7 separate regions of the Homo sapiens genome follow, and all the other regions are linked to region 6. The links are contacts of gene promoters, found by promoter capture Hi-C in blood cells and fetal thymus (Javierre and others, 2016). All regions are on one chromosome and are shown on one strand. Each heading gives the region's core, a stretch centred on a gene start or on the middle of the fragment in contact. The rest is flanking DNA. Distances are from core to core; before and after follow the strand shown. Region 1 overlaps LINC02820 (long intergenic non-protein coding RNA 2820). Region 2 overlaps LINC02820 (long intergenic non-protein coding RNA 2820). Region 3 has its middle 190 kb from the start of LINC02820. Region 4 overlaps LINC02820 (long intergenic non-protein coding RNA 2820). Region 5 has its middle 210 kb from the start of LINC02820. Region 6 holds the start of RASSF9 (Ras association domain family member 9). Region 7 overlaps LINC02820 (long intergenic non-protein coding RNA 2820).

Region 1 (3,521 bases), core at 681-3,180, 420 kb after region 6:
AAGCGGGTTTTGAACCCTGAAGGCATAGAACAAAACAAGTTATGCAGGTGATACAAACCATCTTAGTTCATTCCTATAATGGCTTTCTACTTCCATATGGTGGCCCATACTGGAAGTAATTCTTAGGAAAACATGTTTGTATGTGATAAATAAAACATTATTTTAGAGGTTTCTGTTTTTATTTTCAAAGATTGCTATTTTTGTATTCAGAGTTCAGACTGCTGTGTAATTTTTTTTTTTTACTTTGGTATTTGAGTTTATTTTTTCAAAGAGAGAGTGCTAGAGAATGTGTATAGATGATAAGGGTATAAGGTGAACAATTATCAAGTGTTTGCATCAGATGAATTCAGTGCAGCTGGATGATATGTATTAGGATTTAATCAAAGCTTTAGGAATGTAAACATAAAACGGGTTGAGTTTCACTTAGCATATTCTAAACTTGTTAATAAGTTATTTCACTAATACTACATAGATTTTATTAACATCTAACTCTCAAATAATAGCATTAGTCTAAAGATAAATACACAGTTAACAGTAAAAGCCTCTAGTTTATTAATTTTGGTTGTTGTCAATGGAATAATTTAATTTCATAATAGGTGCATAATAGGTGCATAAATAGGGAATAAAGCTTCCTAATTTAGAGAAATCTTGAAAAAATGAATTTCTTGATAATGATTCAAGCAGTAATAAGAAAAGCTCAAATATCAGAAGAGACCCACCATAGATAACCATCATTCAAATATTTTAAAAATCTAACAATTTAAGTTCACTTCACATATTTCTGCCAAGAGCATGGCTTTTTTCTCTGTTTCAGATCATTCTGGTATAAAGTATAAGCTTGTTTTCAGATCCGGGATATTTGCAAAGCAGGAATTAGAAGAAAGAAGATGTCTATCAAATTTTCACTTTTGAAAAAGATGCATGTGTACATATATACCTACATTATTACTATAGGCAGCATCATTTGTCAATCACATTATAATTACTTAAATGGACTTTGAGATTTACTGTGGGTTTTTTAATGTCTTCAAAAATTTCACTTAAAAAATTTGCTATTTTGTTTAATAAAATAATTAAAATGAATTATCTGTATATAATAGACTTTAAAAAGTAACAAGACATTGCAGAATATAGACATAAGTGTCCCCTGTAAGCTGCAGAATATTTAGAACTAGATACATTCAAATTGAAGTGGAGACATTAAAGAGTAACTTGGAAAAAAATGGGTGAAATAGAATTAATGGAATATATAAATATTTGAGACAATGAATACTCAAAAGTTAAAAGAGTACTTCATCCACTTCACACAGAACTTTTACGTTTTCTCAAAAATACTCTTGGAACAAGGCCCAAATATCAGAAGTTGAACAAATGAATGCTTACCGGCAAACAACAAACGAGTGTAGGCTGTGAAGCTGCCACACCCATGTAACCCCTTGTTTCAGTATGCATTCCAGACTGTTCCATTTCATTTTATAGCATCAAAAGTGAGCAGAAAACATATTCCTGAATCAATTAACACAACATGCAACCTTTTTTTTTAAACCTCTGATCTTAAACAGTGCCTATGAACTAAAGAAAAAGTCATGCAGCTTTCTGGTGAATTTGATCTCTGTTTGCAGTCACCAATTAGTTCTAATTATTCAACATCTCATATCCTTAGTTTTATGATTTGGATCATAAAGTGCCTAAGTGTTTTATTTCACATTGTTTCATTGATTTGGACCTGAGATTCAAGGGAAAGCTAAGGAATACTACAAATCTCAAGGTTGTAAACACTCGTGTAAAAACCAGGTAGTTCCTAAAAGAGGATGTTTTCTGGAATTTTTTTTAAGGCAACTGGACTCTCCATTCTCGTATACATTAAGCAGCTCAAAGGGCATGCTCTTTTCAGAAAGACTTAATGATTTGTACATCCTTCCTTTCTCCCACAAATAACTGAGAGGAATTTTAATCAATTTTTGTTAACATTTATTTTTTACCAATTTATTTTTAAGTTTTCAATTTTGTAACGTAGTGGATACATTGAAGTTTTTAAAAAGTATGCTAAACTACAAGCACATGGATTCTCAAAATTTTTCTCACATATGTGGTATCAAAGTGGGGTTTATATATTGTGAGATTCCTTGATAGGATATGACTAACACCCTTTTGTCATTATTCATTTTATGCCAGAGTTCTCTGATAATTTATTATATTTAGAGAGTATATGTTTCAAACTTTAGTACCTCTAAAATCATGTGATAACAGATTTTTATTATTTAAAGAGTTTACAATAAGATAATTATGTATCAATAACATTGTTATATTTTTTCTCACAAGAAATTTTTCAAAAATTTGTTTCTGTGAAAGCATTTAAAGAATTCAGTCTTCATCTCAAATTATTTTTTCTCTATTAAATTTTATTATGGAAAAAAAGGTAAATCATCACAACTGAGTACTTTGGCCTTGCATAGATGGAAATTTATCCCACGTATTCACAAAGGGCCACTTCGTACTACAGTAACACCTTACTAAGTGGATGTCATTGACTGTCAGCTGAAAGGAAGAAGTATTTTTGTCCTGTTGTAATTTTTATTCAAAAGGGACTCAAAATACTTTTCAAATTCAGCACTACCTTCAACTTGAAATTGAACCACCCTGGAGAAACTGCAAGGGCCGTCAATCATTTCATGGCCGCTACACAGCTGATGGGGAAACAGCATATTTTTGGCAACCATGGGGAAACCTTTTTCATACCAAAAACACAGTGGTGTCTTTGATCTCACAGAGGGAGGGCAAGACTTGTTGGCTTTTTTCTTAAGGATTTATCCAAAAATCTACAAGACCAAATTCATTACTCATACAAAATTCTTTGACCACATGACACAGAAAAGAGACCTTTTCAGAAACATTCAATAGGGAATTTTTCCTCTAGTCCTAAAGTTTGCAAAATCCCTGATAAATTTCTTACTGGAATTCAATCTTAACCAAAATTTATTTTCATTGGGTATCCCACATGCTACCTTCCAATGGAAGCTTTGCTTTATTATTTTGTTAATGATGCCCATTTAATTGAGAGATATATATATCAATTAAAGTTTCTAAGAAATTAAGAACACCTAAAAAATTAAGAATGCATTTTTAAAAATCAGGTCTTAATTTGTCAATTCTTTATTGACAATTGCATTGGAGGATTAAAATCTTTCTGTTACTGTGATTTTTGAAATATGACTTTCATTCTTTTAACTATCAATTATTATAATAAAGGTTACAAACAAAACAGACACTGGAAAATTGTTATATGTGGCTGTAATTCCTCATGAGCTTGGTCTTTGTTTAGCTTAACTCTGGATCCCATAGAATGAAAGTGAAATACCATTTCTAGAGAACATATTATGTGCCTAAAACCCTGCTGGGAGCTTTACTTTTTCATCTCATTTAATCATACGATAATCCTGTGGATGTTGTGGTAAGTGATAGTATTTTTCCAGTTATCCTCTGCCTTTTCCTATGAGGTGATGATACCTTCCTCCATGTGA
Region 2 (3,213 bases), core at 691-3,190, 380 kb after region 6:
CAGAAATTCCTGTCCTCATTTAAATCCATGGACACAGGCCTGAGGGTGGAGCCCTCACCAGGTACCCCACCCTTCTCTACCCAGCACTTCCCTGCCCGCCTCCCGTATCAGTGCCAAATGCTGGATGAATTTCAAGAACATGAGAAAGTAGATGGTATCAAATGCTACAAAATACTAATAATTAAAATTGGTCTTTAGGACTTATAGAGTTAATATAAACACAAGAGTAAAAGAAAACAGGTTGCATGTGTTGAAACCACATATTTCAGAAACAGAAATATTTAGGAGGTAAGAATGGCTGAAAGTTGGTGGTGTGATTTTCATTTAATCTTTTCCCTGGATACTTGAGGTAAGAGGGGAAGGCACCTGAGAGTCAAAGAGATAAATTGGGAAGGTGGAAGGCATACAAAGTTGTAAGAGGCAGACCAGAAAGGAGTCAGGTTTATAAATGAGTTATGGAAAGCTGTGTAAGCACAACAAAATGCTGACATTCTCCTGCATTAAGACCCATCTCAGCCCACCATCTCATCTAAAAGTTCTAGACATCCATTTCCAAGACATCTTAAAAATAATGCAATCTTTTACTGATTATTTCTTGCAGAAGACACAAAATGAAATTAAATCACATAGTACATGTCAAAAACTACTCTTTAAGTTATTACTTCCTTTCCAAAAGTTTTATACTCTTCATGTACTCTCAAATCTACCCTATCTCAGCACACATTCTTAGGTCACACTGAATCTACATTTTACCTCTCCTCTCACTGGAATTTTCCCCCTGTATGATTCACATGTTGATGTAGACCTATCAAGCCATTCCCCAGGGTTCTATTATTTCTATCCACCACTCAATATAGCAAAGGAAGAGATTCTTCCATCAGACCCACCCTCCACAGACAGCAGAGGAGATAAATAATATAAATGCTTATAATTTAAAGCTATTGCCTCTCTGAGAAAGAAAAGTTGTATCAGAAGATTGCACAGAGACAATATCTTTGGAGGAAACAGAAGACAAATGCACTATAATTAAAATACTGTTTTTAGGTTTATCTTGTACCATTCATGAGTATTTCAGATTATGAGATTATGTTTTCTTTGACTTGTTTAGTATGAAACATGCAATTAATGCCTTAACCTCCCTTTTAAAATCAATTCTTAGAAACTAAGTAAACACAAATTATAACTTACAGTGATAGCATTTTGATTTTAGATCTTTGGTGACATTTACTTTGCAGGCCGTTGAAGACACTTATCTGAGTTTCACCTTAATCTATTAGACTGGAATGCCACAAAGGGGTCAGAAAAATAAAAGAGAATCATTTTATAAAGCTATTATACATTTTAAAATAGCATGAAAATCATTTGTGAAATGAAAAACAAGAGGTAACTGTCTTCTCTTCTTTCCATAAATGAATTGTAATCAAACCCCTTTGCCTGAAATTGCTCAATATACTTGCATTATCACAGTATTCAAGGCAGTAACTGTGGCACTAGGATTGTTAAAAATCTACTAATTCAATTTTTTTTTCTAAAAGCTTCCCCCATGTTGAGGTTTCTGCCAGTTTCTTATATTATATTGCTATTCATTTGCTAATCTTTAAAAAAATAATTTGACTTCCTTAGGAAAAGAAACAGTAAGTAGGCTACCAGTAAGTAGCACTGCACTATTAGCAGCAATACTGTTTAATTTCACATGTTCCATATTCGAATTGAGATAGAAGGTGACATCTGAGAGTTGTACAGTTGCTGTCAAGAAAAGGCTGAAATGCATTTCTCTCTAAATGTATTATAAAAATACACATAATTATGAATTCTCATGAAATGCTGGAAAATAACAGCCCTCTGTTGGAAGAGGAAGCATAATAACCAATATGTCTCTATTTATTTTTGCTCCAACATGAGGGTAAGGGGTTTCTTTGACAGTCAGTGATTTTCAAGCAGGTTTAAGAGATAGAACTCTTGGTGATAGGTAGAAGGGTGAGGATAGAAACCAACAACTTTCTTATTTTCTGAATCTCTGCTCTCTCAATTTTAATCTGACCAGATATTTGGATACTGATAAATTTTTGCATTCAGCCTAGTCCCATAAATCATAGTGCCTTACAGAGTCCACAAAATTTCCCTACCCAAATTAAAGTGCTCTTAATTTATTACAGCAAAACATTGTGTCCATTCTTTATTACATTTGTCGAGTGTTTTTCTTGTTTATATCTACCCTTCCTTTCCTTATATCATTCCTCAATGCTTTCACTGTTAAAGCCAAGTGGAATGTAAAACAAGTTAACTGAATTTAATTAATGCAAAGGAAATGGCTATCCTAGCAAGAGAAACAAAGTAAAAGCTTCCAGAATTCCCTTCACTAGTGAATGAGACTTTCATGGACGTAGGTAGAAGCTAGGAAGCATGAAGAAAGAGAGGAATACATTCATAGATAAATTGCTTGGAAATAATTTTTAAAGTATTAAATTATTTAAATAAATTTGTTTTAAACCTATTTATAATTCTAATGGTAGAAATTGCTCATTTCTGAAATCCCAATTTGGAAAATACAGCAAAAGCTAAAATGTCTGGAATGAGTAGAGATTTAGATATATTAAATAATAGAATATATATAAATTATAATATTCAAATAATCGGAATATTGCATCATATTTACTATTAAAACTTAACTTGAATGTGTACATTATTGTTAGATAAAAGGATTTTATGGTCTTTCCATTTTGTAGATTATTTCCATTTTGTAGATTATTGGTCATTTACAAAATCAAAGCAAACTTTCTTACACATAACATCAGATCATATTTACTTGAGATGAAAAATATGTGAAATACACAAAAGCCTAAAATCTTAGAATTAGTGGGAGCCTGAACTTCCATCTAGTCTAAACCTTTTATTTTATAGACGAAAAGTGTTCTAAGAATTGGTAGTCAAATTCAAAAATCAGTTAAAGTCAGAACATAAAGTCAGAAGAAAGTTGTGATTGGGAGATTAAAAAAATTGAGTTAGTAATCACGAACCAGTCTGAAGATTGTAATTAGGTGTACCGTGAAAGCAATAGGTAACAATGTGACAAGGACAAGAACTTCCAGTCCAGCCTGGATGTGTATCTCAGCCCTATCAGATTTTAACTTTGTGAGTTTGGGTAAGTAGTATTTTGAATGTTGGTCTTAATTATCAGCATATTTTCTATAGCTTGTTATATGTCAAAAATAT
Region 3 (3,391 bases), core at 112-2,611, 330 kb after region 6:
TCAGCCATTACAATAGAGAAAAGTAATCATGATAGTCTTATTTTCTGAACTATTAGAATTACAAGCCTAATTTTGCAGTGATAATTATTTGACTTTTTTTTTTCAATATTATACTATTATCTAGAACTAAAAGTCAGAAATCAAACCTGGATATCTTTTTCTGGTTCAAAGATAGAAAATTCAAGGGTGCTGAAATTACTCTGAATGTTGTTTTTATTTAAGAGCTCAATGAATAGGAGAAATAATAAAGTTATTGGTGGTTTATATAAATTGTGGTTATTTTTAGTATTACCTTTTCTAATAAAATTCAAGAATATAAATAGGTTATATAGTGTCTATAAAGTGTTTAACAAAAATCTATTGTCTAATTGTAAACATCAACTAAGATTTTTAAAATAAATACTATCAAATAGACAATAAGCTTACAGGTACAAGTGATATGAAAGAAATTACCATTTTCTGTTGGCATGTCAGTTACCTTAGTTCACAAGAAAAACAACCTATATAAATTGTTAATATTTTAAAATGTAAAGCATCAAGCAGATAGGTTACAACATTTTGGAGCAAGAGCAAATGTGTTCATTGGCCTTTTAGCTACAAATACTTTGCTACAGAATATTTTTTGCTTATTTTACATGATCTGAAATGCCTGAATCTTATTAAAAAAGTCTGAGTCTTACTAAAACAATCATGAAATATTAATAGTTGTAGTTAGTTAATTAAATTATTATTATCCTGATGATGATGATAATTAGGTTAATATAAAAACAATTAGGTAAGTTCTTTTGAAGGGCACACTTTAGGAATATTCTATTTGAGACCAGAATGGACATTTTAAATGAGGAATATCATTCACTGGTTGGCCTACAACTGAAGCCATCATTGCACCTACAGGTCTTGGATTTTATCCTGATTCATACTATTTTACTCTACACTATTTCTCTATTGTATTATCTCCCCCCAAAGATTATTTTTTCATCAGAATTAAGGAGAACTATATGTAATACTATCTATTTTGTTAGAAAAACATTCTCTGTTTTTCTCTTAAGAACTATGTATCTCAAATGTTACTTTTCTATGATGTCTTCTAGGCAGGTTAAGCCCTTTTGTCATCCTTCATATCTCTTCTTGTTATTTTATCCACATAAATATGTATTTTCATAAAAATTTACAAGACCCTTCTTAACCTTTAATGCTAGGACTGTATTTTATTTATTCTCATAGCACTAATAATGTGATTGAAAAATAACACTCACTCAAGTAAATGCATAGGCGTCCCTGCATTCCTTCCTCTCTTTTTCCTCTTCCATTATTCTTTTCTTAAAACTATAAAACTTATTTCTACAGCACAAATAATTTGATCTCTTTGTGAAAAAAAAATCCTTTGTAAAATTTTCTTCGTGATTATATGTTGGCTTGTATATATTCCATTCCAAGTCCTTATACATTGTCCTCAAATCTCTGTCACCATTTCTCCCATCCTTACAGTTCACTCATAAATCTTTTTATTTCACTGACGCAGGAGAACAAAAGAAGCAACAGAAGAAATTTTCTGGTAGCTTTGAGCAAAATAACTACTGAATTCTTTCTTTACTGCAAAGAATCTGTTTTTTCTACTCTCCTGATTAAGATCGACATCTACACATGTGCCAGAGATCCCATTCATCCTGACCTACTCAAAAATAGATATTATTCAAGCAGCTCACTCCTCTCAAGACATATCAGATGTTCTGTCTGGGGGAGAATTATTCTTATCAGCATACAGATATTTTTAAAATGTCTTACATATTAAAACTATCCTTTTTTGATCCCATTTTCCTTTGAGTTATTGCCCTATTGTTCTGCTGTCTTATTGGCAAAACAAGTCACTCAAAAAGCAGTCTATACTACCCATCTTCAGTTTTACTGTGGTAGGCATAATTCTAAGAAAACCCCCAAAAGTTTTCCCCGTCCTCTTGATGTACAAAACCTCTATAATCCCTGGGACCACAAATAGGGTGAATTTATTTCTGTGATTAGGTTTTGTTATGTGGCACCGTTAATCTTAAAATAGAACATCCAGGTAAATGCAGTTTTTTCCCAGCTTTTCATAAAAGAGGAAGTCAGAAATTCAAGTATGAGAGATTTTACATGAGGGAGATTTTCCATTGCTGGCTTTGCAAATGGACAAAACCACATGCTAGGGAATGTGGGTTGCCTCCAGAAGGTGAGAGTATTTCCCACCTGACAGCCAGCAAGGAAACAGGGACCGCCCATAACCACCACGAGGAAGTGAATCTTGCCACAACCATGCAAGCTTAAAAGAAGACCACAAGCTCCACATGAGAACACAGAGTGGCTGACAGTCCTGCTGTGCCACAATTCTGACCCAGACTCTGAGCTAATAAATAGGTGTTGTTTTTTAACCACTAAGTTTATGGTAGTTTATTTCACAGTACTAGAACATTAATACACATCCCATTCTCCACTGACTCATTCCAAATAGTATTTAGCACCACCATTCCAACAAAGCAGGTCATCAGTGATCTCCATATTGATAAATTTGATGGACAATATTTGATCCTATTTATCCAGACCATCAGCATTATCTTACCATGTTGACCACTTCCTTGGTCTCCAGTTAGCCTCTGTGGTACACCATTCTTTCAGATTCCTCTTATCTCAACTGGCCTTTTTCTGGCTCCACCACACTCTTAACTTGGTTTCTGAGACTCCACATCCTTCCTCCAGATTTTTCTCCTACTTTTCTTGTAACCTGCCAGGATCCTTGGTGGACTGAACAAAGGGTGGCGAAAGCGGGAATAAAATTCAAAGACAAGAGAGTATATTTGGAAGATGGGGTCAGGGGGCACGTTGCCTCTAGTGGACAAGGGCCCTGAGCTTTACACAGACCTCCATATTTATTACACAAAAGAGATAGCAAGAAAGCGGGGGTGATTGTCAGGTAATTGTCAGCCGGCTGTTTGGTTCACAGCAGGCTTGCAAGACTGCAATAAGTGCTGGATTTCTCAGTAGATAACTTCAAGGAGCCCGGTGCCAGGGAGTGTGAGGCCCTCAGCAAACCTTTTGGTGGCAGGCGCAGTGTGATTTGCTCACATCCTGCATTCATGATCAACAGTTTGCTGTTTGATCATATAGCCTCCAGTGGAATGCTGAGTTGGTCACGATCCCACAGGCCTTTGGCTCCCTGAATTTTCTGATGCTCCTTTCAATCTCTTTTGCTGGTTTTCCCCTCATCTTTTCTGTCTCTCAAATCGAATGTCTCCGGCTTCATCTTCAGAACTCCCCTCTTTCTATTCCCACCCCTGGCTCATCTTATCAGGTCTCACGGATTTAAGTACCAACTACATGTTAATAACTCCAAAGTTTATATTTAGTCTGCTCTTTTGAA
Region 4 (3,610 bases), core at 541-3,040, 400 kb after region 6:
TATGTATGTATAAAACATCTCCATCACCACAAGAAGTGTCCTCATGCCTCTTCCAGTTAGTTCCCCTGCCGAGAGGCAACCACTATTTTCATTTCTATTCACATAGATTAGAGCTGCCTGTTTTTGAAATTCACAGAAATGGAATAATATCTTATGTACTCTTAATGCATCTTTCACTTTACACAACACTTATGAGACTGTATAAGTTGTTGTGGGCATCATTAGTTTGTTCTTTTATTGCCGAGTAGTTTTTCATTGTATGAACACACCACAATTTATCTACTCTCCTGTGGATGGATATTTGGAGAATTTCTAGTGTTTGGCTGCTACAAATAAAGCTTCTGTGAAGAAAAAACTATGGGAATTGGGATAATCAGAAAAGAACTAGAATACTTCACCATTACCAAATTTTTGCATCGAATAAACATGGTTATTTTAACATGTACTCTGGAGTCGGCCCCCTACCCCCCCAAAAAAAGAATTGACATCAGATATGTAACACTAAATGTCACTGACATAAACTCTTCTCCCTTTTGTTAATTTGGACATTTTTCTGTCCCTAGCTTTCTTTCAAGATAGCTCTAACTTTCCATGATGTCTCATTAATAATTTGCAAATACCTGAATCACATTTCAGAATATGACACATCTGTTCTAGGAGACTTGAATTTTTGTAATGGTGCCCTCTAATGTTTTTCCAACAAATTCTTCATCAATTATATTTAAAAATTTTAAATTTACATTTTCCCTACTTTTTACTATTTCAAGAAGACAGGAGTAATGCTCAATGGGATAGGTAAGAAAAATATGAACTAATTATTCTAATTCTTCATTATTCATTATATACACATTTTAAGTATGTATCCACTTCATTGTATCTCCTAGATAAGCCCTTTGAAAATCCAAATGAATTATAATCTAATTGTAGAGAAATATTTGTTTGCTTAAATGTATCTATTTTTCTTCTGATTTAAATCATCTGATTCTATTCAGTGACTATTTAATGCTTATTGTATACAATGGAATACTTGCTGTGGGGAACATAGAAAGATCAAATCAGGTTAAAATATAATGAGAACAAAGAAGTAATCAAATTTAATATATAACCGAGAGAAATAAGTGTATAACGTAGTACTAATTTGAGAACATAAATACAATAATTGCATTTTTGAGGTCTTCTCATCTCTTTTCAAACATCTTCTTTTTTAGAGCCTCAAGCCCTGTTCAAATTTATCTGAACATTCTGGAAATCCTATTTTCTAAAAATAGATATTTATTGCTGATTAGGAATTCTTTGGTTAATGTCAACTTATATGACACTGTAATTTTCCCTGAAAATTCGCTAAATTCTACCTCACCAATCAGTTCTTTCTTATTCAAAATTAAGTTCAGTGGCAGATTGACATAAGGAAAGTATATGAGTTTGAAAACTCAGGAAATTTTTATTTCCATCACAGACCTGTCTCTAGACAGCAGAGTCATCTTTTTTTGCTTATCTAATAAATTCACTCACTCATTCCAGAAATATTCATTGAATGTCTTACCATGTGACAGTCACTATTCTTTACCCTAGGAATAGAGCTGTAAACAAGATAGCAAAATGGTATAGGGACTATTATAATGTGATTATAATTTATTCAATTTTAAAATTTGCTTATAGGTAATTTCTTAATTTGTATTCCACCTTAAACTGTCTTTGAGGATAATTTGTATTTCTTCTTATAACAGGAAAAATTTGATAAAGAAAATAGAAAAACATAGTGAACTGTCATTAGGAAAACAGCTAGAATGAAGTAGATGTAGACAAACAGTAAAAAGTAAGCAAATGACTACATAAAATGTCAGACAGTTGTTAAGCGCTGAAAAGAGAATAAAACAGAGTTCGTGATGGAGAATGAGCTTAGTGGGAGAATATTGGCAAGATTTTGGAGATGCTGTTAAGATGAAATATACTAATGTGGTAATAAAGGTAGGGATTGAGCAGAGTGCTTGGTGAGCTTCCTTTAAAGAAATGTTTTGATGATCAGCAATTTCCTATGTAAAGTATATCTCTTTGATCAATTTATTTATTTATTTAATTTATTTTTTGTGTAAGACAGTGTTGCTCTGTCACCCAGGCTGGAGTGCAGTGGCCAACCTCTGCCTCCTGGGTTCAAGAGATTCTCCTGGCCGGGCGCAGTAGCTCTGTTGCCCAGGCTGGAGTGCAGTGGTGTAATCCACCTGCCTCAGCCTCCAAAGTGCTGGAATTACAGGCGTGAGCCACCATGCATGGCCTGACCTCTATTTATAATAAACTTTGCTTGTAAGGAAACAATATAATCACTATGATGATTTTCTTCTGGATAAACTGTATTGTGATGGTTAATTTTAGATGTCAACTTGACTGGATTAAGCCATACCTAGGTAGCTGATAAAACATCATTTCTGGGTCTATGAGGGTGTTTCCAGTAGAGATTAGCATTTGAATCGGTGGACTAAGTAAATAAGATCTACCCTCACCCCATGTGGACAATGTGGACAGGAACTATCCAATTGAATTAGGGCCCAGATAGAACAAAAGGCAAAGGAAAGGAGAATTTCTCTCTCTCTGTCTCGCTCTCGCTCTCTCTTCTTTCTCTTCTGGAGCTGGGAAACCTCTTCTCCTACCTTTGGACATCAGAACTCCAGGTTCTCTGAACTTTGGACTCTAAGATTTGCACCAGTGGCCCTCCATGTTCTCAGGCCTTCAGTCTTTGTCTAAGAGTAACACTATCGGTTTCCCTGGTGGTCAGGCTCTCAGACTTGCGTTAGCTATGCCACTGTCTTCCCTGGTTCTCCAGCTTGCAGACAGCTTATTGTGGGACTTATCATGCTCCATAATCATGTGAGGCAATTCTCTAATAAATCCTGTTTCATCTATCTATCTATCCATCCATCCATCCATCCATCCATCCATCCATCCATCCATCCATCCCCTATGGATTCTGTCTCTCTGAAGAACCCTGACTAATACACATATTATTTGAGGTAAAGAAAAGTTATGAGATTGGAGGACTGAGGGCAAACTACTAAAAAGTCATGTTGTCACTGATAACACACCTTTTCCCCCAAATGTTTGGAAAACTATTACCTATGTATATTGCATTTTCCTATTTTGCCTGTCATTAGAAGGAGGGTTCATGCAAAGTGGAGACTACAGAGACAATTTAAATGACATTCAAATGAACTCAAAACCTCAGAGTTAGAATACAAATTGAAGCTTTATTATAGATCAAATCAGTTCAGAAAAAATTGTCACAATTTAACAGTTGAGCAGAAATATGAAAATCTTTAAATAAAATACAACTCAAAAGCCCCAAGCATTTACACAAGCCCTAAATTATAAAGCATAAAGTTTATCGGTCTAAACATTTTCATCAAGTGCAGCATTTTGCCTTACCAAAAGAGGATTGCTAAGGTTGAAAGTGCATCCGGAGCAGGCAGAATAGAAAAGAAGGTACCTGGTCTGGCAACCATAGGTTAAGGGTTTTTGATCCACACAGCAAACATTTTCAAATAAGTAGAGATAGAAAGTTGAAAGCTATTAAATAGAGAATCATTTCCCCATTTCTTGTTTTTGTCAGGTTTGTCAA
Region 5 (3,307 bases), core at 161-2,660, 310 kb after region 6:
TATTTAAGGGGAGGTGGCCCTGTGGCCAGGGAAGAAAGAGCTATGAGTTTGAAGGTACAATTCTACTAGTTACTCTGAAAGTAGAATAACCATCTAGTCAAAGGTTACAATTTATGAAACAATGGAACATCCCTCAATCTGAAAGGTTGCTCTCAACAGACAGACTCTTTTAGGAGTATCTGTGAAGGGAACAATAGATAATCACCAGGCTACAATTTGACAAGAGATCAGGTATTCTGGGAACCTGGACCTACTCTCAGTCAGGGTCCCTCTAGAATAAAGCTCCTAACACCCACCCCTCCATCTGGAAATGGAGAAAAGTGGTTATATCACCCGTGGTTTCACTCCTCACTGAAAAACTTGGTAGTTGGCGTCTGACAATTTCTCAAGATCTAAGTCCACAATTAAATTATCTTTCAAAATGTTAAGCAATAAAAGCTTTGTACCTTTTTAAAGAAATTATTTTTAAAAATATAATTGTAGTCCTGGTGACAGGAATAAAAAGAAAAGTAACTTCCTCATTCTTTTCAGTAGTGAGGTCAAATTATCAACAAAATGCTTTTATTATACCCACTGCAATTTACATTGTTTTCAAAGTTCACTTGGATGGAAAATACACAGTTAAGGTCTTTTCCAGAGTCATTTAAAGAAAAACCTGAAGCATAATGTTAAACTAATTAGTCATATTTTAAGATGAGCAGGTTCATGATGATCCTAAATGCCTTTGATTCTTTTTTGAGAGGTAAGTGGGTGTTAAATTATACATGAAATTACTTCTTACAAAAGAAATATTTTATTAAAAATCTTTTAAAAGTGTGATATATTCTCATATTTAAATTTCATGAAAGAAAAATCTTACAAAGAATAACTTAGACCAGTCACAGTGACTCACACCTTAATCCCAACACTTTGGGAGGCCGAGGTGGGAGCATTGCTTGAGCTCGTGAATTTAAGACCAGTCTGGGTAACATAGTGAGACCCTGTATCTAAAAATAAAAATAAAATAAAAAATTAGCTGAGTGTGGTGGAGTGTGCCTGTAGTGCCAGCTACTTGGGACTGGTGGGGGAGGTGAAGTGTTGAGATGGGAGGATGGCACTGAGGCCAGGAGGTCGAGACTGTAGTCAGATGATGTGACTGTGCCACTGTACTCTGGCACGGGTGAAAGGGTGACAAGCGAAAACCTGTCTCAAAAAAAATAAAAAGAAACTTTTTGTAGCTAAAGGGAAATACAACATTTTAAGGCAAATCATCTTGAGATTGACAGGATTGGGGAAAAAAAAACGGACACATTTTTCAAGCCAAGTCTTGTTCATAAGGAGTATGATGGAAATCCTATTGTCACAGAGTTTACAACTCATTGTTTTCTTCTTTAATTGTGTTTCCTCCTAAACCTTTTTTTTAAAATAAATATCTACTCAATTAACTGATTTCTCTTCTCCAGATTTTGCTTGGAGGTCTAGAGTTTAATGGGGCAATAAATGACTGGCATTAATCAAACAACAAATAATTGTGCAATTTATGTAGTCCACTCTTAGCAATCAGATTTTTATATCATTTTGCCTCTTTCCCACAAATTCATTTCTACCTAACAGCGATATTTATTTTGTGCTCCAACTTAAGGTTTAAGAGACAAGAAGACAGAAGCCTCAGTGGTTTGCAGTGTGTATGGGGGAAAATGTTTTAAAGAAAAAAAGCCCTTTTCTCTGTTATCACTAAAATAGGGGTAGGGAAGATAAATATGATTCTATAATATATTCAAAGGAGAATGCTAGGTGTATTATCTCTGTTACTGTTAATTGCACAAAAACCCTGCAAGGTATATATTAGATTTTGTTTATATAAATGAGAAAGATGATGATCTTAGAGAGATGAAGAAATTTGCTTAAAATCACAGTGATTTTTCACAGAAAAGATCTGACTTGAACCAAGGTAGATCTCACCCCAATCATGCAGCTCTGCTGTGCTTGTTTTCATTTGAAGCAGTATGTGATCAAATTCCTGTAAACCTGGAGTCAGAGGCAGAGCCTATGCCTGCGCCCCTTAAGGGACTAGGTACAGAAACTTCCAAGGGTCAGGCTTTGTGATGGGCAGCAATTCAAAATACTACACCTGGCTTAAATTTAACTTAAAAAAGAAGAAACATGTGAATAAGATAACCACAGATCTTTATTGTTACAACAGTCTGATAAATGCTAAAGGAATGAGTTTGCTGTTTTGTACATACGTGTGGCAAAAAGATCTTCACAGGACCATGTGTAAGAATGCTTTTCAATGCAGACTGCTTTAAGAAAGAATGGGTTTGGTTCTCTCAGAGTCTATTAGGAGATCACACTTCCACATTGAGTTATGACTTACTAATAGAGAAATGACATGAAGCTTATTTTAACTCATTCTTATGAATTAAAATTAATACAGATATAGTTTGTAGTGAAGTATCATGATTAAGAGATCTCACAGGCTTTGCAATCAGGCAAACCAGGGTTCAAATCTCAGCTCTTAACTTTTTAGTGATCTTGAGCAGTTAACTTCCTTGTATGTTTTTCCCCATTTGTATAATTGGGGGATTACTAGTCATTCCACAGTGGGAATTTTTGTGCAGACTTAATGATATATATAAGAAAAAAAAACTAGTTCATACCTGAAAGATCTGCACCTATGGCTTTGAAAAGTGCAGTCCCTGCTTTCACTGGTTGTTGAGTGCCTGTGGCTTTTCCAAGTGCAGAGGGCAAGCTTCCAGTGGATCTACCATTCTCACATCTGGAGGGTGGTGGCCCCTTTCTCACAGCTCCACTAGACAATGCTCCAGTGAGGGCTCTGTGTGGGGGCTCTAACCCCACATTTCCCCTTGGCATTGCCCTACTAAAGGTTCTCTGTGAGGACTCTGTCCCTGCAGCAGGCTTCTGCCTGGACCCTCAGATTCTTCCATACATTCACTGAAATTTAAGTGGAGGGTCCTAAGCCTCAACTCACTCAGGCTTAAAACCATATGGAAGCCACCAAGGCTTATGGTTTGCATTCTCCAAAGTGGCAATTTGAGCTGTAACTGGACCCCTTTGAGCTCTGACTGGAGCTGGAGCAGCTGGGATGTGGGAAGCAGTGTCCAGAGGCTGGCAGGGCAATGGGACCCTGGGCCTGGCCGGCCAAACCATTCTTCCCTCCTAGGTCTCAGGGCCTGTGACGAGAGAGGCAGCCTGGAAGATTTCAGAAATGCCTTCAAGGCCCTTTTCTCATTGTCTTTGCTGTTAGTACATAGCTCTTTTTCAGTTATGCAAATGTCTCTAGGAAGTGGTTACTCCACAGCCTGCT
Region 6 (3,580 bases), core at 123-2,622:
TTATATAAAATTATAAAGAAAATATTATAAATAATGAAATAGTATAGGACACATGTGTATATGCACATACAGAAACATGAAATATAGATGAATAGAGAAAGATTATGATAATAAATAATGAAAAACATGATTTATCTGAGCACTGCATAAATCAGTGTGTATCAGAATCATGGAAGACCTTGAGATTATTTTTTTGTTTGGTGTTGTTGGGGGTAGGGGATAAACTCCCAAAGTAAGTAGGAGCGATTCATATTCTTTGCCAAGGCTCAGAAAGAACTCACAAGTTTGTTGGCTTTCCTTTCCCTCCCTCCCTCATCGTCTGCCTGGGAAGCCCATGATTAGAAGCCTGGCGGGGTGGAGGGTGGTGGGGTGGTTTTAGGAGGGGCAAAATCCCAGTAAAACACGTCCATGAGAAAGCTCTCCTGGCCCTTGCCCCTAAATAGTGCTTTCCCATGAGTGCCAGGTACCTGGTGGGAGCTGCGCTGGGCCTCCCACAGGCACCCGAACTCTCCCATCTCCATTCCTCTGCCCTGCTTCTGGATTCGAGCTCTCCTGGGACCAGATGAAGCCCTCCCTCCCTTAGACTTCCACTTCACATTTCGAGCTCCAGCAGATCCCCTCGGTGTGTCTTCTTTACTCCTTGAGGGGCAGGAGCAGTTTGCTTTTCCTCTGAAATTCCCAGGGCTCTAAAGGCCCAGTGAATGTCAAAGATGGGGTAGGGGTCAACATAAACGCCTTGGGAGTCAAACACTAAACTCCAGCTGGTTCCTAGACCAAACTGTGATGCATCAGCCCTGGAGCCCTGTGGTCCTTCAGGTCCTTCGACTTTTGCAAGATGAACTTGAGAGTGTGGAGCAGGGGCCTGGAAGAAACTCTTAAGACCGTGAACTCAGGGACTTAACAATTCTAAGTGGTCTGTGAGTCCACCTTGATCCGGTTTCCAGCTTCCCTCTCCCTAATATATTTTAAAGTCCTGACACCCTGGCAGGGGATCTGGGGTCGAATGAGTTGGCAAAGAGAGTTCTCAGCAATCCCTCATGCTTGCCATGATCAGATGACTTTTCACAGACTGGAGCTGACCAGGAGTTGGGGGATATTTACTTTTAATCCTTTTATGTGTGTTCAGTACACCTTGTGTGGTTGGGTGTGGAAAGCGGGGGAGGGGGGATTTCCAGATCGAGTGAAACTCCCGTTCCATTGGTATTACCATGCTTGTGGGGTTGGCAGTTCTTTAAGTCTGCAAATAACTACAGAACACAATAGAGTCCTCCTCCCTTCCTCTCTCTCTCTTTCTTTTTTTTTTTTCTTTTCCTGCTTCCAAACGCCTTCTTCGAGGCTGAAGCTGGGCAGGTCTCCAGAGGTGCAGCAGCCACAACAATCCCGCAGTTCAAAGTTAAGCAGCAGTTGCACAACTTCCAGCAACTTTCTCAGCCGGCTACTAATGAGCTGAAAGCCAGGAACATCCGAGGAGAAGAGAAAGCTTCCAGCCCTCCTCCCTTCACCCTGGAAATCCAGACACCCCCACCCCCACCCTCAGATCACTTTAAGATAATTTCTTTATTCGTTTGCCCGACAGACCATGGCTCCCTTTGGAAGAAACTTGCTAAAGACTCGGCATAAAAACAGGTAAAGTCAAGCGTGTGAGTAAGTGTGTGTGTGTCTCTGTGTGTGTGTGTGTCTTGTGTGTGTACTCTGGACCCTACCTGTGAAAGTATGTGTTTTGTGGTTGTTAGATTCTGATAAAAAAAGGCTTCGTGGGGACACAGTCCTAGCCTAAGGAGTTAGGCTAGTATGAATACCTAGATAGTAAGGATATTCTCCCAGTATTGATGATGGGAGTGACCAGCTCAAGGATCGCAGAGAATAAAGAGTGATTATATTTGACTCCTTTCTCCCCTTTTGACCAGTCCTGTTTCCACAACTAGCAACATAAACAGTTTCTTTTTTTGTTGCCCTGGGCATTTGAGGGTAGTACAATAAAAAGTGTCATTTTGTTTCAACAGAACTTTAGAATATTGTAGAAATAATTAAAACTTTGATAAAGATGTAACTAGTATTTATAGCCACTAAGTAGGATGAAAAATAAAACTGCTGATACAATTCAGAAACAATGCTTTGGCTCCCCTGAGAGTGAGGCATTCCTGAAACCTGGAATGTTCCCAAAGTGGAAACACTCTGGAGAGAAACTTTGTTTGAATTGATTCTTTAAAAAATCTTTGAGAATTTTAGGTAGTTTTAAGCACTAAAGAAGGATTCAAGCAGCTATCCTCTCTAATCCTTATTATTACTGTTTTACTTTGATTTGATTTGATATTTCAAGCTTGAAATGCCCATAGTATAAATAAGTTACTCAAAACACACATACACACACGTATTTTTCTAGGGACAGTATGTCTGTCTTAGTCTTATTAAATATTTTATTTACACATCAAATGTTACGTTTTCATGCCAAAAACTTGAGAATAAATTTAGACATGGGCTATATTTTTTTAAAAATATATTTATTTTGGCATAGGGGATTGTCCACCACTTTTCTCTCAATCATGCCTGTTTGTACTTGTCATAATTTGCTCAGTGCAGATTCAAAAGGATACAATTACATGGTAGGAAATGATATAATTATTTTAAAGTGTCTACATGACAATATAGAGTAATACAACTTTAAAGTAAATCTCCATACTTTATTTTGCGCACACATGTCTACTTTGAAAATCCTGTTTTTAACTCATTCCAAATGTATTCATGATTTAGGTGACAAAATTTCCTTTAGAAAGTAAATGGCCTTAATAAATACTGTAAAAGTTTCTAAGTAAGCTTTATTTTCTAATAATTTGACAATATTTCACAAATATGCTATTTATGGTAATTAAAGATAATGAAACTATATTAAAATAAAGTGGTTTGAGTATTTAAAATTTGTGTTTTGATGGTGACAATGCATTTTAAAATATTCTAGAATATTCCAGAAAAGCCTCCCCCAAGCCAAAAATAAAAATACTCTGTTTTTTAAATGATATTTTTGTAGTGGTATTTTTGTAGTATTATTTTGGCATTTGTTTAAATGTCATCAAATGTATAAAAATACTCTGGAAAACTTTATGGTTTCATAAATCAAGTTGTGTTTCTGGCATACTATCCCTGTAGTCAGGGCTTTCTGTTTGTTTGTTTGAGGTTTTTTTGTTTTGCTTTAGCAATTTGAGATTTCTGTCATTGGTATGCCAAATACAGGGCAATAAAACTTTGCATGCGCCCCTGAGTTTCCCTCAGGGAAGTGCATTCTTCAATTTCATTACATCAGTTCTGCCACTCTACTATCTACTCTACCTATAAAACTAGCTTTCTTTCGAGGAGGTGAGTATGCAAACATTTTTTAAAAGTTTTCTATGCAAAATTATGAAAAGGTGAAAATAAAAATAAAAAAGAGAGTTTAATAGTGTTGAATTTCAAGTTTCTCAGAAAATGGAATGGCTCCTGAAGATGATGCTTTGTTATAAACGCAAGTGTTTTGGAAAAGGTGGCAATAGTAAGGATATGGGTAAGCTTCTCTAATGAAAGTATTTCCCTTTACAGATTTGTATTT
Region 7 (3,170 bases), core at 521-3,020, 360 kb after region 6:
TACTACCAATCGCAGCATTCTTTGTCTATTCCTCCTCTGTTTTCCATCAGACTCTATTCATACTTCCAGTGTTGAATTTGTAATGAATAGGATTTATCAGCTTACATGACTGCCTTTCACATAGTAGTCCCTCAAAGAGTATGCTTTATGTGATTACAGGAATAGATGAATAAATGGTTAGCTGGTGATATGGTTTGGTTCTGTGTCCTCTCACAAATCTCATCTTGAATTGTACTCCCATAATTCCCACATGTTGTGGGAGAGACCTGATGGGAGATAATTGAATCATGGAGGTGGTTTCCCCCATACTGTTCTCATGGTAATGAATAAGTCTCACGAGATCTGATGGTTTTATCAGGGGTTTCTGCTTTTGCATCTTTCTCATTCTCTCTTTGCCTGCTGCCATCCATGTATGACGGGACTTGCTCCTCCTTGCCTTCTGCCATGATTGTAAGGCTTCCCAGCCACATGGAACTGTAAGTCCAATTAAACCTCTTTCTTTTGTAAATCACCCAGTCTTGGGTATGTCTTTATCAACACTGTGAAAACAGACTAATACAGTAAATTGTTACCAGTAGAGTGGGGTGTTGCTGAAAATATACCCAAAAATGTGTAAGAAACTTTGGAACTGGGTAAGAGGCAGAGGTTGGAACAGCTTGGAGGGCTCAGAAGAAGACAGAAAAATGTGGGAAAGTTTGGAACTTCCTAGAGACTTGTTGAATGGCTTTGCCCAAAATGCTGGTAGTGATATGGGCAATAAGGTCGAGGCTGAGATGGTCTCAGAGGGAGATGAGGAACTTTTTGGTAACTGGAGCAAAGATGACTCTTGCTATGTTTTAGCAAAGAGATGGGTGGCATTTTGCCCCTGCACTAGAAATTTGTGGAACTTTGACCTTGAGAGAGATGATTTAGGGTATCTGGTGGAATAAATTTCTAAGCAACAAAGCATTCACGAGGTGACTTGGGTGCTGTTAAAAGCATTCAGTTTTAAAAGGAAAACAGAGCATAAAAGTTTGAAAAATTTGCAGCCTGACAATGCGTTAGAAAAGAAAATCCCATTTTCTGAGGAGAAATTCAAGCTGGCTGCAGAAATTTGCATAAGTAACAAGCAGCCAAAAGTGAATCCCTACGACAATTGTGAAACTGTCTCCAGGGCATGTCAGCAGTCTTCACGGCATCCCCTCCCATCACAGGTCCAGAGGCCTAGGGAAAAAAAAGTGGTTTTGAAGGCTGGGCCCAGGGTCCCTGAGCTATGTGGAGCCTAGGGACTTGATGCCATGTGCCCCAGAGGCTCCAGCCATGGCCATAAGGGGCCAATGTAGAGCTTGGTTCTTGGCTTCAGGTGGTACAAGCCCCAAGTCTTGGCAGCATTCACGTGGTGTTGAGCCTGTGGGTACCCAGAAGTCAATAATTGAGGTTTCTGAACCCCCGTCTAGATTTTAGAAGATGTATGGAAATGCCTGGATGCCCAGGCAGAAGTTTGCTGCAAGAGTGGGGCTCTCATGGAGAACCTCTGCTAGGGCAGTGTGGAAGGGAAATGTGGGGTTGAAGCCCCCACACAGAGTCCCTACTGGGGCACTGCCTGGTGGAGCTGTGAGAAGAGGGCCACCATTCACCAGACCCCAGAATGGTAGATCCACTGACAGCTTGCACCATGCACCTAGAAAAGCCACAGACACTTAATGTCAGCCTGTGAAAGCAGCCAGGAGAGAGGCTCTAGCCTGCAAAGACACAGGGGCAGAGGCGCCCAAGACCATGGGAACCCACCTCTTGCATCAGTGTGACCTGGATGTGAGACATGAAGTCAAAGGAGGTCATTTTGGAGCTTTAAGATTTGACTGCCCCACTGGATTTCGGACTTGCATGGACCTTGTAGCCCCTTTGTTTTGGCCAATGTCTCCCATCTGGAACGGTTGTATTTACCCAATGCCTGTACCCCCATTGTGTCTAGGAAATAACTAGCTTGCTTTTGATTTTACAGGCTCATAGGTGAAAGGGACTTGCCTTGTCTCAGATGAGACTTTGGACTGCAGACTTTTGAGTTAATGCTGAAATTAGTTAAGACTTTGGGGGACTGTGGGGAAGGCATGATTGGTTTTGAAATGTGAGGACATGAGATTTGGCAGGGGCCAGGGATGGAATGATATGGTTTGGCTCTGTGTCTCCACTCAAGTCTCATCTTGAAATGTACTCCCATAATTCCCACATGATATGGGAGGGATCTGGTAGGAGATAATTGAATCATGGGGGAGGTTTACCCCATAATGTTCTCATGGTAATGAGTGAGTGTCACGAGATCTGATGGTTTTTCCAGGGGTTTCCGCTTTTGCCTCTTCCTCACTCTCTCTTTGCCTGCTGCCATCCATGTAAGACGGGACTTGCTCCTCCTTGCCTTCCACCATGATTGTGAGGCTTCCCCAGCCATGTGGAACTGTATGTCCAATTAAACCTCTTTCTTTTGTAAATTGCCCAGTCTTGTGTATGCCTTTATCAGCAGTGTGAAAACGAACTAATACAACTTGGCAAGGATCTTCTTTTTCAACTGGGTGTAAACTCATTATGGGTTTAGAATCAGTCCTTCACTGAGCAAATGAAGTTAACTCTGACCAGTAGGCATTTTCTAGATTAAAGTAGGTTTGCTCAGCACTGGCCTTTTGACCACAAAGTGCAATTTCAGTCCAATTTCATTCATTATCTCCTTCTATTATGTTTTTAATATCTATTGGCCACATGATAAATGCAGCAATTATATGCAAATGACTGAGAAAAAAGATCAAAGTGTGTGCCTCTAGCAGAGACATTCATTCATTAAGAGCATGGTGCCAGGTTGCTCGTAACTGTGCTGATTATCTGCTTATGCTTTTAACAAAAGTTCCACAAAACATTCTTATCTATCTTCCTAAAGTCTGTCATTTGGCTTTGTAATTTTTTAGAATGTATTTTTTCAAGAATAGAATGTATACACTCTGGACACCCATGACACTATTATCTGTGCACTGGTAAGAGACATGTGTTCCAGGGAACCAAAACTTTTCAGATTGTATTTCTGAGGATTGTTTCAGATTTTTTATTCAAGAGCAATAGAAAAAAATTTCTGAAATTTGATAGTGCTTAAATATTCATATGTCTTCTCACTCTTAGATGAGTTGATCAACTCAGAAAACTTTATT

What was found. The method cuts DNA at HindIII sites, captures the fragments that hold promoters and counts their contacts. A CHiCAGO score of 5 or more calls a contact.
Region 1: a fragment that was not itself captured here is called in contact with the fragment with the promoter of RASSF9 in region 6 in 1 of 17 cell types (fetal thymus); the score reaches 6.3 in fetal thymus.
Region 2: a contact is called between a fragment that was not itself captured here and the fragment with the promoter of RASSF9 in region 6, in 2 of 17 cell types (erythroblasts and megakaryocytes). The highest score is 5.2, in erythroblasts.
Region 3: a fragment that was not itself captured here is called in contact with the fragment with the promoter of RASSF9 in region 6 in 1 of 17 cell types (erythroblasts); the score reaches 6.9 in erythroblasts.
Region 4: a contact is called between a fragment that was not itself captured here and the fragment with the promoter of RASSF9 in region 6, in 1 of 17 cell types (M2 macrophages). The highest score is 5.2, in M2 macrophages.
Region 5: a contact is called between a fragment that was not itself captured here and the fragment with the promoter of RASSF9 in region 6, in 2 of 17 cell types (erythroblasts and megakaryocytes). The highest score is 6.5, in erythroblasts.
Region 7: a fragment that was not itself captured here is called in contact with the fragment with the promoter of RASSF9 in region 6 in 3 of 17 cell types (megakaryocytes, erythroblasts and M1 macrophages); the score reaches 6.9 in megakaryocytes.

Annotation. Positions count from the first base shown.
Region 1 is chr12:85,416,983-85,420,503 of GRCh38, reverse strand. The region is part of intron 3 of LINC02820 (long intergenic non-protein coding RNA 2820); the gene reads right to left. Among named protein-coding and RNA genes, the nearest start is that of LINC02820, 100 kb to the right of the region's middle. The HindIII fragment of the contact is 2,181 bases long and covers 840-3,020 here.
Region 2 is chr12:85,453,269-85,456,481 of GRCh38, reverse strand. All of the region lies in intron 4 of LINC02820 (long intergenic non-protein coding RNA 2820), which reads right to left. Among named protein-coding and RNA genes, the nearest start is that of LINC02820, 140 kb to the right of the region's middle. The HindIII fragment of the contact is 806 bases long and covers 1,538-2,343 here.
Region 3 is chr12:85,508,887-85,512,277 of GRCh38, reverse strand. No RefSeq gene overlaps it. Among named protein-coding and RNA genes, the nearest start is that of LINC02820, 190 kb to the right of the region's middle. The HindIII fragment of the contact is 1,875 bases long and covers 424-2,298 here.
Region 4 is chr12:85,434,289-85,437,898 of GRCh38, reverse strand. The region is part of intron 4 of LINC02820 (long intergenic non-protein coding RNA 2820); the gene reads right to left. Among named protein-coding and RNA genes, the nearest start is that of LINC02820, 120 kb to the right of the region's middle. The HindIII fragment of the contact is 2,899 bases long and covers 341-3,239 here.
Region 5 is chr12:85,527,341-85,530,647 of GRCh38, reverse strand. No RefSeq gene overlaps it. Among named protein-coding and RNA genes, the nearest start is that of LINC02820, 210 kb to the right of the region's middle. RefSeq lists enhancers at 2,602-3,101, 3,102-3,307. The HindIII fragment of the contact is 1,939 bases long and covers 441-2,379 here.
Region 6 is chr12:85,834,201-85,837,780 of GRCh38, reverse strand. RASSF9 (Ras association domain family member 9) reads left to right here and starts at 1,372. Exons shown (of 2, transcript NM_005447.4): 1 at 1,372-1,626. The coding sequence starts at 1,580. The HindIII fragment of the contact is 4,697 bases long and covers 1-1,482 here.
Region 7 is chr12:85,477,505-85,480,674 of GRCh38, reverse strand. All of the region lies in intron 4 of LINC02820 (long intergenic non-protein coding RNA 2820), which reads right to left. Among named protein-coding and RNA genes, the nearest start is that of LINC02820, 160 kb to the right of the region's middle. The HindIII fragment of the contact is 5,440 bases long and covers 1-3,170 here.